Regions from separate parts of the Homo sapiens genome. Here region 1 is linked to region 2. Evidence: promoter capture Hi-C in human tissues and cell types (Jung and others, 2019). All regions are on one chromosome and are shown on one strand. Each heading gives the region's core, a stretch centred on a gene start or on the middle of the fragment in contact. The rest is flanking DNA. Distances are from core to core; before and after follow the strand shown.

The links. Contacts are between HindIII fragments. The study calls those that stand out against the background at their distance.
Region 1: a contact is called between a fragment that was not itself captured here and the fragment with the promoter of PAPLN in region 2, in 1 of the 25 tissues and cell types used here (hippocampus).

What each region holds. Positions count from the first base shown.
Region 1 is chr14:73,683,544-73,689,768 of GRCh38, forward strand. DNAL1 (dynein axonemal light chain 1) reads left to right here. Exons shown (of 8, transcript NM_031427.4): 6 at 3,716-3,842; 7 at 5,832-5,972. Among named protein-coding and RNA genes, the nearest start is that of PNMA1, 28 kb to the right of the region's middle. RefSeq lists an enhancer at 1,985-2,154. The HindIII fragment of the contact is 5,854 bases long and covers 1-4,932 here.
Region 2 is chr14:73,233,077-73,239,262 of GRCh38, forward strand. PAPLN (papilin, proteoglycan like sulfated glycoprotein) reads left to right here and starts at 4,430. Exons shown (of 27, transcript NM_001365906.3): 1 at 4,430-4,516. RefSeq lists enhancers at 2,703-3,275, 3,276-3,847, 4,421-4,991 and a silencer at 3,065-3,359. The HindIII fragment of the contact is 14,518 bases long and covers 1,439-6,186 here.

The sequences.
Region 1 (6,225 bases), core at 756-3,255, 450 kb after region 2:
ACACCAGAGCTTATTCTCCTACATAATTGTAACTTGGTACTCATTTACCAACTTATTCCCATCCTCCCCTCAGCCCCCCACCCCCCTCTCCAGTCTCTGGTAACTACTGTTCTGCTCTCTACTTCCATGAGATCAGCTTTTTTTATTTATTTATTTATTATTATTATTATTATTCTTTTGAGAATAACAAGTTCACTCTTGTTACCCAGGCTGGAGTGCCATGGTGTGATCTCAGCTCACTGCAACCTCCACCTTCCAGGTTCAAGCGATTCTCTTGCCTCTTCCTCCCAGGTAGCTGGGATTACAGGTGCCCACCACCACACCTGGCTAATTTTATATGTTTAGTAGAGACGGGGTTTCACCATGTTGGTCAGGCTGGTCTCAAACTCCTGGCCTCAAGTGATCCACCTACCTCGGCCTCCCAAAGTGCTGGGATTACAGGCGTGAGCCACCGCACCTGGCCGAGATCAACTTTTTTAGATTCCACATATGAGTGAGATCATGCAGTGTCATTCTGTGTCTGATGTGTCACTTAACATAATGTTCTCCAGGTTCATTCACATTGTAACAAATGACAGGATTTCATGCTTTTTTATGGCTGAATAGTATTCCATTGTGTGATATACCATATTTTCTTTATACATTCATTCATTATTGGACACTTAGGTTGATTCCATATTTTGGCTATTGTGAATAGTGCTGCAGTAAACATGGGAGTGCTGATAGCTATCTCTTCGACATACTGTTTTCATTTCTTTTGGCTATATACCCTGTAGTGAGATTGCTGAATCATATGGTAGTTCTATTTTTAATTTCCTGGGTAATTTATAGTTTTTGTTGCTATGATGCATTTCTCTTTAACACCCTTCCTGTTTATATTAAATAATATAAAAGCCATTTATTTTTGTATACTTAACATGTAATCAACTACCTACCAACAATTCTTAACTGTTTATAAATCACATCCCCACAACAATTTTCAAGCAACATTGTGTTACCTGGATTCATTACTTTATACAGAGCAATAATCATCATCATCATCCTCATTACATATAGTCTAAAATAGAGGTCAGCTGGGCATGGTGGCTCACGCCTATAGTCCTAGCACTTTGGGAGGTCGAGGCAGGATTGCTTGAGGCCAGGAGTTTGAGACCAGCCTAGACAACATAGTGAGACTCTTGTCTCTACAAAAAAAAATTTTTTTAAATTAGCCAAGCATGGTGGCACGTGCCTGTTCTAACTACTCAGGGGGCTGAGGCAGGAGGATCACTTGAGCCCAGGAGTTCAAGGCTGCAGTGACCTGATTGTGCCCTGTACTGCAGCCTGCGTAACAGATCGAGACTCTGTCTCTAAACTAAAAAACAAACTAAAAAAATAGATTTTATGGCATTTCATAAAGCTCTCCCACTTCTGTAACCTCCAACATGATATTATTTACAGAGTAGACATTTACTTTTTTGTTTTCAATACTTACAATGGTTTGTTGACCTTAAAAAATCATAAATTTTAATAGCTGAGAGGAACCTTAAAGAACTTGTCCAACTTCCTCATTTTTTCCAATGTTTTTTATGGTGGTGAAATATACATAACATAAAGTTTACCATCTAAAACATTTTTAAGTGTATAGTTCAGTGGTAGTAAGTAGACTTGCACAACCATCACCATCCATCTCCAGAACTCTCTTCATCTTGTGTGTCTGAACCTCTGTAAGCATACAGTAGCTTCCTACTGCCTCTTCCCTGATCCCTGGCACCCACCATTCCACTTTCCGTCTTTACGAATTTAACTACTCTAGGTATTTCATATAAGTAGTATCATACAGCATTTATCTTTTTGTGACTGGCTTATTTAACTTAGCGTAATATCCTCAAGTTTCATCCATGTTGTAGCGTGTGTCAGAATTTCCTTTCTGCTTAATTTTTTTTTTTTTTTTTGAGACTGAGTCTCACTGTATCGCTGAGGCTGGAGTGCAGTTGCGCAATTTTGGCTCGTTCCAACCTCTACCTCCCAGGTTCAAGTGATTCTTCTGCCTCAGCCGCCAAAGTAGCTGGGACTACAGGCATGTGCCACCATGCCCGGCTAATTTTTTTATATTTTTATTAGAGATGGGATTTCACCATGTTGGCCAGGCTGGTCTCAAACTCCTGACCTAAGGTGAGCCGCCCGCCTTGGCTTCCCAAAGTATTGGGATTACAGATGTGAGCCACTGCACCCAGCCCATTCCTGCTTAATGTTAAATGATATTCTATTACGGTATGTATATACCATGTTTTGTTTATCCGTTTGTCTATCAGTGGACACTTGGGTCACGTCCATCTTTTGGCTATTGTGAATTTGCTACTGTGAACATGGGCGTACCAATATCTCGAGATCCCACTTTCATTTCTTCTGAATATGTGCCCCGAAGTGGAATGGCTGGATCCCCTGTTAAGTGATATCAATTATCATATGATAATTAATTTTTTAAGGAACGGCCAAATTGTTTTCCATAGCAGCTGCACCATTTTACCTCCCTGCCAACCGTGTACAAGGTTCCAATTTCTCCACATCCTCACTAATACTTACTATTTTCTGTGATTTTGATAGTAGCTATCCTAATGGGTATGAGATGGTATTTCATTGCGCCAGTCTCCTCATTTTACAGAGTAAGAAACTGAGGGGAGAAATGGCTTGTTTACATGCAGAAGCTGACCAGTTTGCTAAATGACTGTTCAGTTATTGTCCAATTCTCGAAAGAGTCAGCTTATTTAATGACAGATTTCACTGAATTGATTCACTCAAACTTTGCCAGGTTTTCCTCATTGATATTCACTAGACTGCTTCACAAAAATCTTGTCTTTATTATCTACTTAACAAATACTTACAGGAAATTGTATTATTGGCTGGGCACAGTGGCTCATGCCTTAATCCAGCACTTTGGGAGGCCGAGGCGGGCAGATCCCTTGAGTCCAGGAGTTCAAGACCAGCCTGGACAACATCTCTACAAAACCCATCTCTACCAAAAAGACAAAAATTAGCCAGATGTGGTAGTGTGCACCTGTAGTCCCAGCTACTAGGGAGGCTGAGGTGAGAGGATTGCTTGAGCCCGGGGGAGGTTGAGGCTGCAGTTAGCTGTGAGTGTGACACTGCACCCCAGTCTGGGTGACAGAGTGAGACCCTGTCTCAAAACAAAACAAAAAACAACTTTTTTATGTTTGAAAATCATCATAATAAATGTTGGAGAAGACCCTGAATTTTAGACCTAGCTCTATTATTTAATAGTGTGTTCTTAGAAAAAGCCCTTAATCCCTCTGTAATAGAAATCAAATAACCTGCCTTATCGGCTTTAAAGCAGATGTTCTAAGGACCAAATAATATACTCTATAGGAATGTAATTTGAAAACCGTACCATTAATGAACGAGATAAGATAGTGCCATTATTTCCCCTCTTGGTGATTTCAGTATTAGTAACGTATTATGTTTTGTGATTTTTTTTTTTTTTTAGTGGAGCAGTCAGAGAAGGAAGAGTTCAGATTAGTTTGAAGAAGGGAATGGAATGTTCTACTTAGCTCCCTCAATGAGAAAAAAAAAACCTCCCACACAACTACTAGCTCTTCTACAAGTAGACAGGCAGGGTCTAAGTTCACTTTGGAAGCCATTATGTATATCTTTATAAAGAAGAAGACAGAAAGAAAAGCTTAAACATAAACATAAATCAAATTTTGTTCTTTTTCAGGAGGCAGTAGGGGACACATTAGAAGAACTGTGGATCTCCTACAATTTTATTGAGAAGTTGAAAGGGATCCACATAATGAAGAAATTGAAGATTCTCTACATGTCTAATAACCTGGTAAAAGACTGGGGTAAGCTGAGAGTGGCCCTTTGCTAACCTTCTACCGCCTGTTTATAGAAAATAGTCCGAGAGGGAAAAGATGCAAAACGAGAACGTTTATTTCTAAGCACAGAGAGAAAGTGGAAACATTTATGGCTAAGCTCAGAGAGAAACAGCAATAGGAGTTTCTAAATTTTAAATGCTTAACATTTATATTTAAATATTTACTTAGGATGGACCGGGCGCGGTGGCTCACGCCTGTAATCCCAGAACTTTGGGAGGCCGAGGCGGGTGGATCACGAGGTCAGGAGATCGAGACCATCCTGGCTAACACGGTGAAACCCCGTCTCTACTAAAAATACAAAAAAATTAGCCGGGCGTCGTGGCGGGCGCCTGTAGTCCCAGCTACTCGGGAGGCTGAGGCAGGAAAATGGCGTGAACCCGGGAGGCGGAGCTTGCAGTGAGCCGAGATCGCGCCGCTGCACTCCAGCCAGGGCAGCAGAGCAAGACTCCGTCTCAAATACCTAACGTTAAATGACGACTTAATGGGCACAGCATACCAACATGGCACATGTATACATACGTAACAAACCTGCACGTTGTACACATATGCCCTAAAACTTAAAGTATAATAAAAATAAAAAATAAAAAAGTGAAAGAACTTGAAAAAAAAAATTAGGATGAACGTAATCTGATAGGTCCTGGTCCTATTAATCATGAAAAAAATTTAAGCTATTATCCAAAGGCTGAAGTAATCAGTTTAAATTTAATACTTCAAAGGTAGAAGACTTATTTGATATCTATGTTACTTTGCTTTTTTATTGTATATAATTCATTCAGTTATATGCGATGAACTATACCAGTCTCTTTGGATACATAGTTGAATAGGACATTATCCCTGCCCTCAAGAAGTTCACAGCTTAGTGGGGAAAATTAGTTTGTAAGCTGATAATTATAAAACTGTGTGATAAGAGGCCAGGTGCAGTGGCTCTTGCTGGTAATCCCAACAATTAGGGAGGCCAAGGCGGGCAGATCACCTGAGGTCAGGAGTTTGAGACTAGCCTGGCCAACATAGCAAAACCCAAATTTTTTTTTGTAAAAATACAAAAATACAAAAACATAGCCAGGTGTGGTGGTACATGCCTGTAGTCCAAGCTACTTGGGAGGCTGAGGCATGAGAGTTGCTTTAACCCAGGAGACAGAGGTTGCAGCGAGTGGAGATGAAGCCATTGCACTCCAGCCTGGGTGACAGAAGGAGACTCTTTCTCAAAACAAAAAAAAGCAAAACTGTGTGATAAGTTCTGCAATACAGATTTGAATGTGTTGTTTTAAGAATTCAAAGATGAGGGAATGGGTACAGACAAAGGCAGGTTAGCTTAACCTACACTGATGCAGCACAGCATGAAGAAGACCTGTCACTGGAGAGTGATTTGTTCTTTTTGACTTTGAATCTCATCTCGTCTTATTTCATCCTTATGCTAGCATTTAAAGTAGAGAGGTATGTCTTCTTTTTCCCTCCCATCCTGTACTGTCTTCTGAGAATGACTTTATATGGTATAACTTTCCTAGCTTCCTTCAAAATCTTAAACAACTGATTGTCATGAATAGTCACAAACTGAGGGTTAATGATATTGGAATTTAATCCCCAAAATTGTAACAGTAAAACTTGCTGTTTTTTTTTTTTTTTTTTTTTTTTTGAGACAGAGTCGTGCTCTGTCGCTCAGTCTGGAGTGCATTGGTGCAATCTCTGCTCACTGCAACCTCCGTCTCCCGGGTTCAAGCAGTTCTCCTGCCTCAGCCTCCTGAGTAGCTGGGACTACAGGTGCCCACCACTATGCCTGGCTTATTTTTGTATTTTTAGTAGAGATGGGGTTTCACTGTGTTAGCCAGGATGGTCTCGATCTCCTGATGTCGTGATCCGCCCGCCTTGTCCCCCCAAAGTTCTGGGATTACAGGCGTGGACCACCGCACCCGGCCAAAACTTAGTGTTTTAATATGGAAAATATTCTTTTACTTGTAGCTGAGTTTGTGAAGCTGGCAGAACTGCCATGCCTCGAAGACCTGGTGTTTGTAGGCAATCCCTTGGAAGAGAAACATTCTGCTGAGAATAACTGGATTGAAGAAGCAACCAAGAGAGTGCCCAAACTGAAAAAGCTGGATGGTGAGTGATTCTGAGCTGGCTTAGACATATCTTCTAGGCATAAAAATGGAATTTGTGGCATGGAATCATGAAGAGGAGAAAAACTAAAGAAAAAATACCTCTGATCTTCCAGGTCATTTCTATCTATGTAAAATTGAATGGTCTAGGTTTGAGCCAAGGTGAGATGAAAAACTGCTAGGATATTTAGACTGGTACAAGATTCTCCCTAGACCAAAAGCTTATAAGAAAGCTAGGCCTGGCCGGGCATGGGTGG
Region 2 (6,186 bases), core at 3,180-5,679:
TAGTGAGCTGGAGCCCACGCCTGGGAGAGCTGACTGCATCTCTTCCCAACTCCACGTCTGGTGACGTCACCTTGGTAGCTTGAAAACAGCCATGGTGGGAGCATCTACACCAAACGCCATGGGAAAGAATCCACCTGCACAGCAGTGCTGCCTCCTGCAGCAAGCTGAAGCTTAAACAGTTATCACCACTGGGCCGGTCTCTCCCAGCTTCTAGCGCAGCGTAGGCACTCAGATATTTGGATGAACAACCTCCAAATGAAGGAAGAGGGAAGCAGCATCCTCTAAATTCAGTTCAATGGGAGTTCAACAAATACCCTGTCCTGGTGGACATGTGTTTTCTGGGGCAGCTGCCATCTGAACTTCCACCTGGGGACCCTGCCAATTCTTGTTTCTCAGGTCCTGGCCATCAGGGTACAGGCATGTTCCTGTGGGGAGTGAGTCTACAAGGACGCTTCAGGGTTTTTCTAGGCATGTGTCAGCATTGCCTAAAATTGGTGGTGACACGAGTTCAGCGTCCAGCGGAAGAGCAGCATAGATCCTAACTGGAACTGCTCCTGGACTACAACTAGGACATTGTCGGGGGTCCAGCCCAAGCATGTGCCTGATTTTCAGCCCTCCTGTCAATCTGCGATCTCCCATTGCCTCTCTTCTAAGCAACTCTCCTGTTTAAGCTGACTCAGTCCTTTTCTGTGATGTGCAACCAAGAACCGCAAGGGTTGGTTCAGGCCCTCTGAGAGCAGAGGCTGAGACGGGACTAGATGTGCGAGAGATCTACAGGGGAGCGCCTGTGAAGATGAATTGCGGGGAGGAGGAGGTGCAGGGGGAGTCTTCAGAACCTGGTGTGGGGCTGAGTGCAGCCACTGGAAGCTGGTCACCAGTTACACTTCTCAAAGCCCCTCTCTTGAGGCAAACCTTCAGGGCCACCATGAACCTCTGGTCCAGGGTATAACATGAAAATGGATCTCTGCCCTTGCAATGTTCACAATTATGAGAGAGAAAGAGAAACAACTACATCACTGCAGTAGTTTGAAAGTGCTAGGGCAAAGCCCGGCACCGATGGGAGTGCAGAGCCAGATGTACAGGAAGGCTTCCTGGAGGAGGTGAATCCTGGGAGCCCCGAGGCTCTTGGCATTTTGCCCTCTCTCTTCTCTCCAGCCTTCCATCCCAACCCAACCACACAAAGAGATCTGGCCACTTCTTTCTTAGCCTCATCCTTAGATCTGCAATCTGTGGAGATATGAAAATGTAGAGAATTGAGGATACACATGGCGGGAGCACAGGACAGAAATTTAACAAAAATTTTTTTAGAGACAGGGTCTTGCTCTGCTGCCCGGGCTGGAGTGCAGTGGTGCAATCATAGCTCGCTGCAGCCTCGACATCCCAGGCTCAATTGATCCTCCTGCCTCAGCCTTCCAAGTAGCTTGGCCAGTGGTACCCGACCTTTTTGGCACCAGGGACCAGTTTTATGGAAGAGAATTTTTTCAGGTCTGGGAGCGGGGTGGGATGGTTTCGGGAAGAAACTGTTCCAGTCTAAAGCCTGATCCTGTTCAGATCATCAGGCATCAGAGTCTCCTAAGGAATGCACACCCTAGGTCCCTTGCATGAGTAGTTCACAACAGGGTTCATGCTCCCGTGGGAATCTAATGCTGCCACTGACCTGACAGGTGGCGGGGCTCAGGCAGTAATGCTTGCTCACCTCCTGCTGTGTGCCCGTTCCTAACAGGCCATGGACAGGTACCGGTCCGTGGCCTGGGGATTGAGGACCCCTATCTTGGACTGCAGGCAACTGCCACCATACCTGGCTAATTAAAAAAAAAATTGTAGAGATGGAGGGTCTCACTGTGTTGCCCTGGCTAGTTTTGAACTCCTAGACTTAAGCAATCCTCCCTCCTCAGCCTCTCAAAGTATTGGGACTCCAGGCATGAGCCACTGCGCCCAGATCAGAACTAACTTTTATTCTGCATCTAGTAGGAATTTTATGGAAACCAGTTACTTCCCTACTCTACCACCTGCTGTATGAGTCTCAAGTGAGCAAGTTGTGGCTTAAGGAGGTGACCCGACCTGCCCAAGTACACACACAGTGAGAAGCAGAGCAGCCTTCCAGTCCAGGTCTGCCTCCGCCCCAGGCTACCCCAAACCCCCAATGCGAGGGCGTCTCAGGTGCAGACACTGAGTGGCATAGAGCCAGCACAGAGGGGACTTGACAATAGGAAGGAAGGTCTTACACTTTTTCCTGGAATCTTCTTTCTAAACCACCCTATTTTAATGCATCAGTTCTGTTCACATCTCTGTGAGGTAAGCAGAGGAGAAATGAGGCTTAAAGAGAATATTCCTGCCCAAGCCAGTAATTGCTAGGGCCTGGCTGGTGGGTCTAAGACAGTCCCTTACCACTGAGTGTGGGTTCTGCCTCCCAACCTCAGAGTCCTCTTTGCAGCTGGCGTGAGGCATAAGAAATCACAGCCCTGGGTGTCTGAGAAGAAAGGATCATAGGAAAAGCAGGGACACAGCAGGAAAGTGAGCTCCTTGGGCCTCAGCTTCCCCCACCCTGCAGCGGGAGAAGCATTTTCCTCCCACTTAACAGAGGACCTTTGACCAAGCTCAGAAAAGTCCCAGCTGGTGGGGGCAGGGAGTGGGGCTTGTTGAATGGAAGAAGCGCTTTTCCTCTTTAGAGAGGCTGCATGATTCCACTCCCCTTTCTCTGCCAAGCTTTATCTTTGCTTAAGAATTCACACAACTCCCCAGGGGCCCCGCTACAGCTGCTGCTCCTCCTGTCTTCATTGATAGGTAAGAAATGCACCTGATTTAAACTGATTTAAACTGGCCATGTTCTAATAAGCATTTTGTCCAAACAGGCAGCTGCTGGAGCCAGGGGGCTGAAGTGGGGCTGAGCTTCCCGCTGGTGACTTCTCTTTGCCCAAATGAGGCCAAGGGAGAAGTGGCAGGGCCAGCAAGGGGCTAAAGGCAGAACAGCGTGGGGGAAGGGGACCAGCCTTTGCCACCACCCCACCCCCAACCTCTCCCCAACTTCTTCCCCCCAACCTCCCTCGTGTCCAGGACCAGTTTCTAAAGATGAGTGAATTCCAGTTTCAAAAAAAGAATGGTAGGCAAAGAGTGTCTTGGTTGTGAAAAAGGACAACCAGGAAAACAAATGAAGTTGATCACATGCGTTGAGCCCCTGCCTTGATGCTAATTAGTGCCCTGGCACAGGTGGTGGGGCTGCATTGCAGGCCCTGCCCCCCGGGACTCACAGCTGAGCAAATCACAGCAACAGGGACAGAAACCGAGGGAGCAGGACATGCACCCCATCGGCCTGGGGTGGTGTGGAGACGGCTTCAAAAGCAGGTGACATGCTGGGCACGGTGGCACTTTGGCAGGCCACGGTGGGAAGATTGCTTGAGCTCAGGAGTTCGAGACCAGGTTGGGCGAGACCTTGTTTCTATTTAAAAAAAGAAGAAGAAGGCTGGGCGCAGTGGCTCACGTCTGTAATCCCAGCACTTTGGGAGTCCGAGGTGGGTGGATCACCTGAAGTCAGGAGTTGGAGACCAGTCTGGCCAACAAGGTGAAAACCTGTCTCTACTAAAAATACAAAAATTAGCCAGGCATCATACAGACGCCTGTAATCCCAGCTACTAGGGAGGCTGAGGCTGGAGAATCGCTTGAACCCAGGAGGCGGAGGTTGCAGTGAGCCAAGATCTAGCCATTGCTCTCTACCCTGGGCAACAAGAGTGAAACTCCGTCTAAAAAAAAAAAAAAGAAAAGGAGGGAGGAAAGTAGAAAGAAAGAAAAGAAAGAGGAAGAAAGGGAGGGAGGAAAGTAGAAAGAAAGAAAAGAGGAAGGGAGGGAGGGAAAGAAAGAAGAAAGTGAGGGAGGAAAGTAGAAAGAAAGAAAAGAGGAAGGGAGGGAGGGAAAGAAAGAAGAAAGGAAGGAAAGTGACATTTGACCAAGGTTTTGAGGGCTGACTACGGGTTTGAGAGGTAGAGGGGATTGGGAGAGCGCATTCTGAGTGAGAAAACGTGCTGGGAGATGGGTAACAGCAGCGTGTGCGGAGAAACTCAGTTGCGGCTGAAGAATAGGATCCAGGGGTGGAGAAGGTGGTGGCTGGACACAGGTGTGTTGTGTGTAGGATAGGCATGAAGAGGAGCGGATAGGGCAAAGCTAGAAGGCTTGGGCAAGGGGAAATGGGATTGGAGAGGTGACTGGCGCTGACCCAAGAGAGGACAGACGGGGTGACCAGAGTGGAGGATGAGCCAAGCCTTGGCACAGACCCAAGCGGGTGGAGGCCCCGGGCAACACCGGTCACCACGAGGGCCTCTACGAAGGGCTCTGTCCTCCCACGGGGATTGGAGGTGGGTAAGTGAGACAGGGCGGGGTGGAGGGTGAGGCCAGGCAGCGGCGGAGAGAGAAAGTCCCACCCCTGCGGGCGTTCCTTGCGGCCCGGCCGACCTCGCGGGCTTGGGCCTGGGCGGGCACCGACGGAGCGGCCCTGGCTGCAGCCTCCCGGCGCCAGCGAAGACAGGTAGGGAGGCGGAGGGACTGGAAGCCCCCGGGCGCCCAGCGGCGGGGACCCCGCACCCCGGGGCTTCTGCAGGAATTTGCTCGCCTGGCTCACGGCGACGGGGGTGTCGGAGAAAGTGGGGGCCGCAGAGAAGACCCCGCCCCGGCTCGCTCTCCGGAGGTGGGCGCAGGGTCATCGCTCGGCACCGCGCGCCCCCCGGCCTGGAGGAAAGGAAATGCAGAGAGCCGGGGAGCTGGTGCGGGACGGCCCCGGCGCGCACCCTCCGCCCGCTCGGACCTTCCCTTCAGGCGAATGCCGCTCCCGGCGCGTGGTACAAGCGAGGCCCTGGAGACCGTGCGCCCCTCCCGGGAGGTGCCACTGGGCCGCGGGCCTGGAGCGTCCGGGAGCCCCAGCGGCTGCCGGCACCTGCGCGGCCACCCCGGGCCTCCCGTGGGAACCGCGCCTCTCCGCCTCGGGGGTGCGCGGCGCGTTCCTGGGGTGGGGACGCGGGGTGCCTGGTCAGGGCTGGACCGATGCAGAGGGGGGCCGTGGGCGGGGGCCACGGGGACGGGCGTCTGCGGACTGCGGCGGTCCCGGAGTCGGCTGGGGACCCTGTAGGGGGAGGCTTGGTCGGCGGCCACCCGCCTTCCCGCCCTCTGGCGCCTAGGGTCGCCGCCTTCGGCCCTAGCTCAAGGCAGACGCGTTCCCCGGGAACAACACGTTGAGGGCGCCCACCCTGCGTGCCCGGGGCCACCCGGTCCCTGCCCTCGGGCGGCAGGAGAGGTCGAGCTTCCACGGCCCTCGGAGTAGCCCCGTGACCAGACCCGGACTGGCCTTGGAGTTGAAGGGGTTGTTTGCCACCAAATGAACCGAAAAAACTGAACTTTTCAGACTTCGGAATGGCAGATATGGGCTTGGAGTTCAGTGAAATTGCAGCGGAGGCGGTGGTGTTCTGAGTAATTACAAGTAAAATTCTTCTTTCACCCGTCTTTTCCTCAGCCTCGCCCGCCCTAGCAGGCCTAGCCTGGCCCTAGCAGGGGGCTCCTGCTCTGGGAGCTGCCCCCAGCAGAGCAGAGGCAGGGCTCTGGCAGCAACCCCCTTCCCTCACCCTCCAACCCCAGGAATCTCGAACTTGACCACGAAAATAATGACTCAATGACTCACTGTGCCAAATTAACGAGTGTGTACATTGTTCAGTATGCCAGGTTACATTTCTGCTGAGCTTGGCTTCTGTATGCTGTCTTTTATCCTTGTAAGCAGAAGTCATTTTATATCTTTAAAAAATTAGAACATTGGTAGAATTACAGATTTTAAAGTTCAAACCTGCACGCTAGTACTTGTTTAATGTTTTGTACTGAAGGGCGCACATTGTTTATGTCATTCTGCGATACAGCGACATGTATGTACACATACACACTGCACAGCGTGTATACCGACTGGACACCTGCACCAAATAGTACACACCAGACTGCACATGGACCCGCCCCGCACACTGCACATGCACTTTGCATGCATGCACACATCAAACCACAGACACTCCACACACACTGCACTGCACACTGCCCTGAGCACACTACACTGTACTGCACACTGCACTGCACTTTCAGGGCTCACACGCTGCACCACGCACACTGCACGGCGCACACTGCACTGCATACACACGTTGGTTATGGAGGCTGCTTATGGAGCTT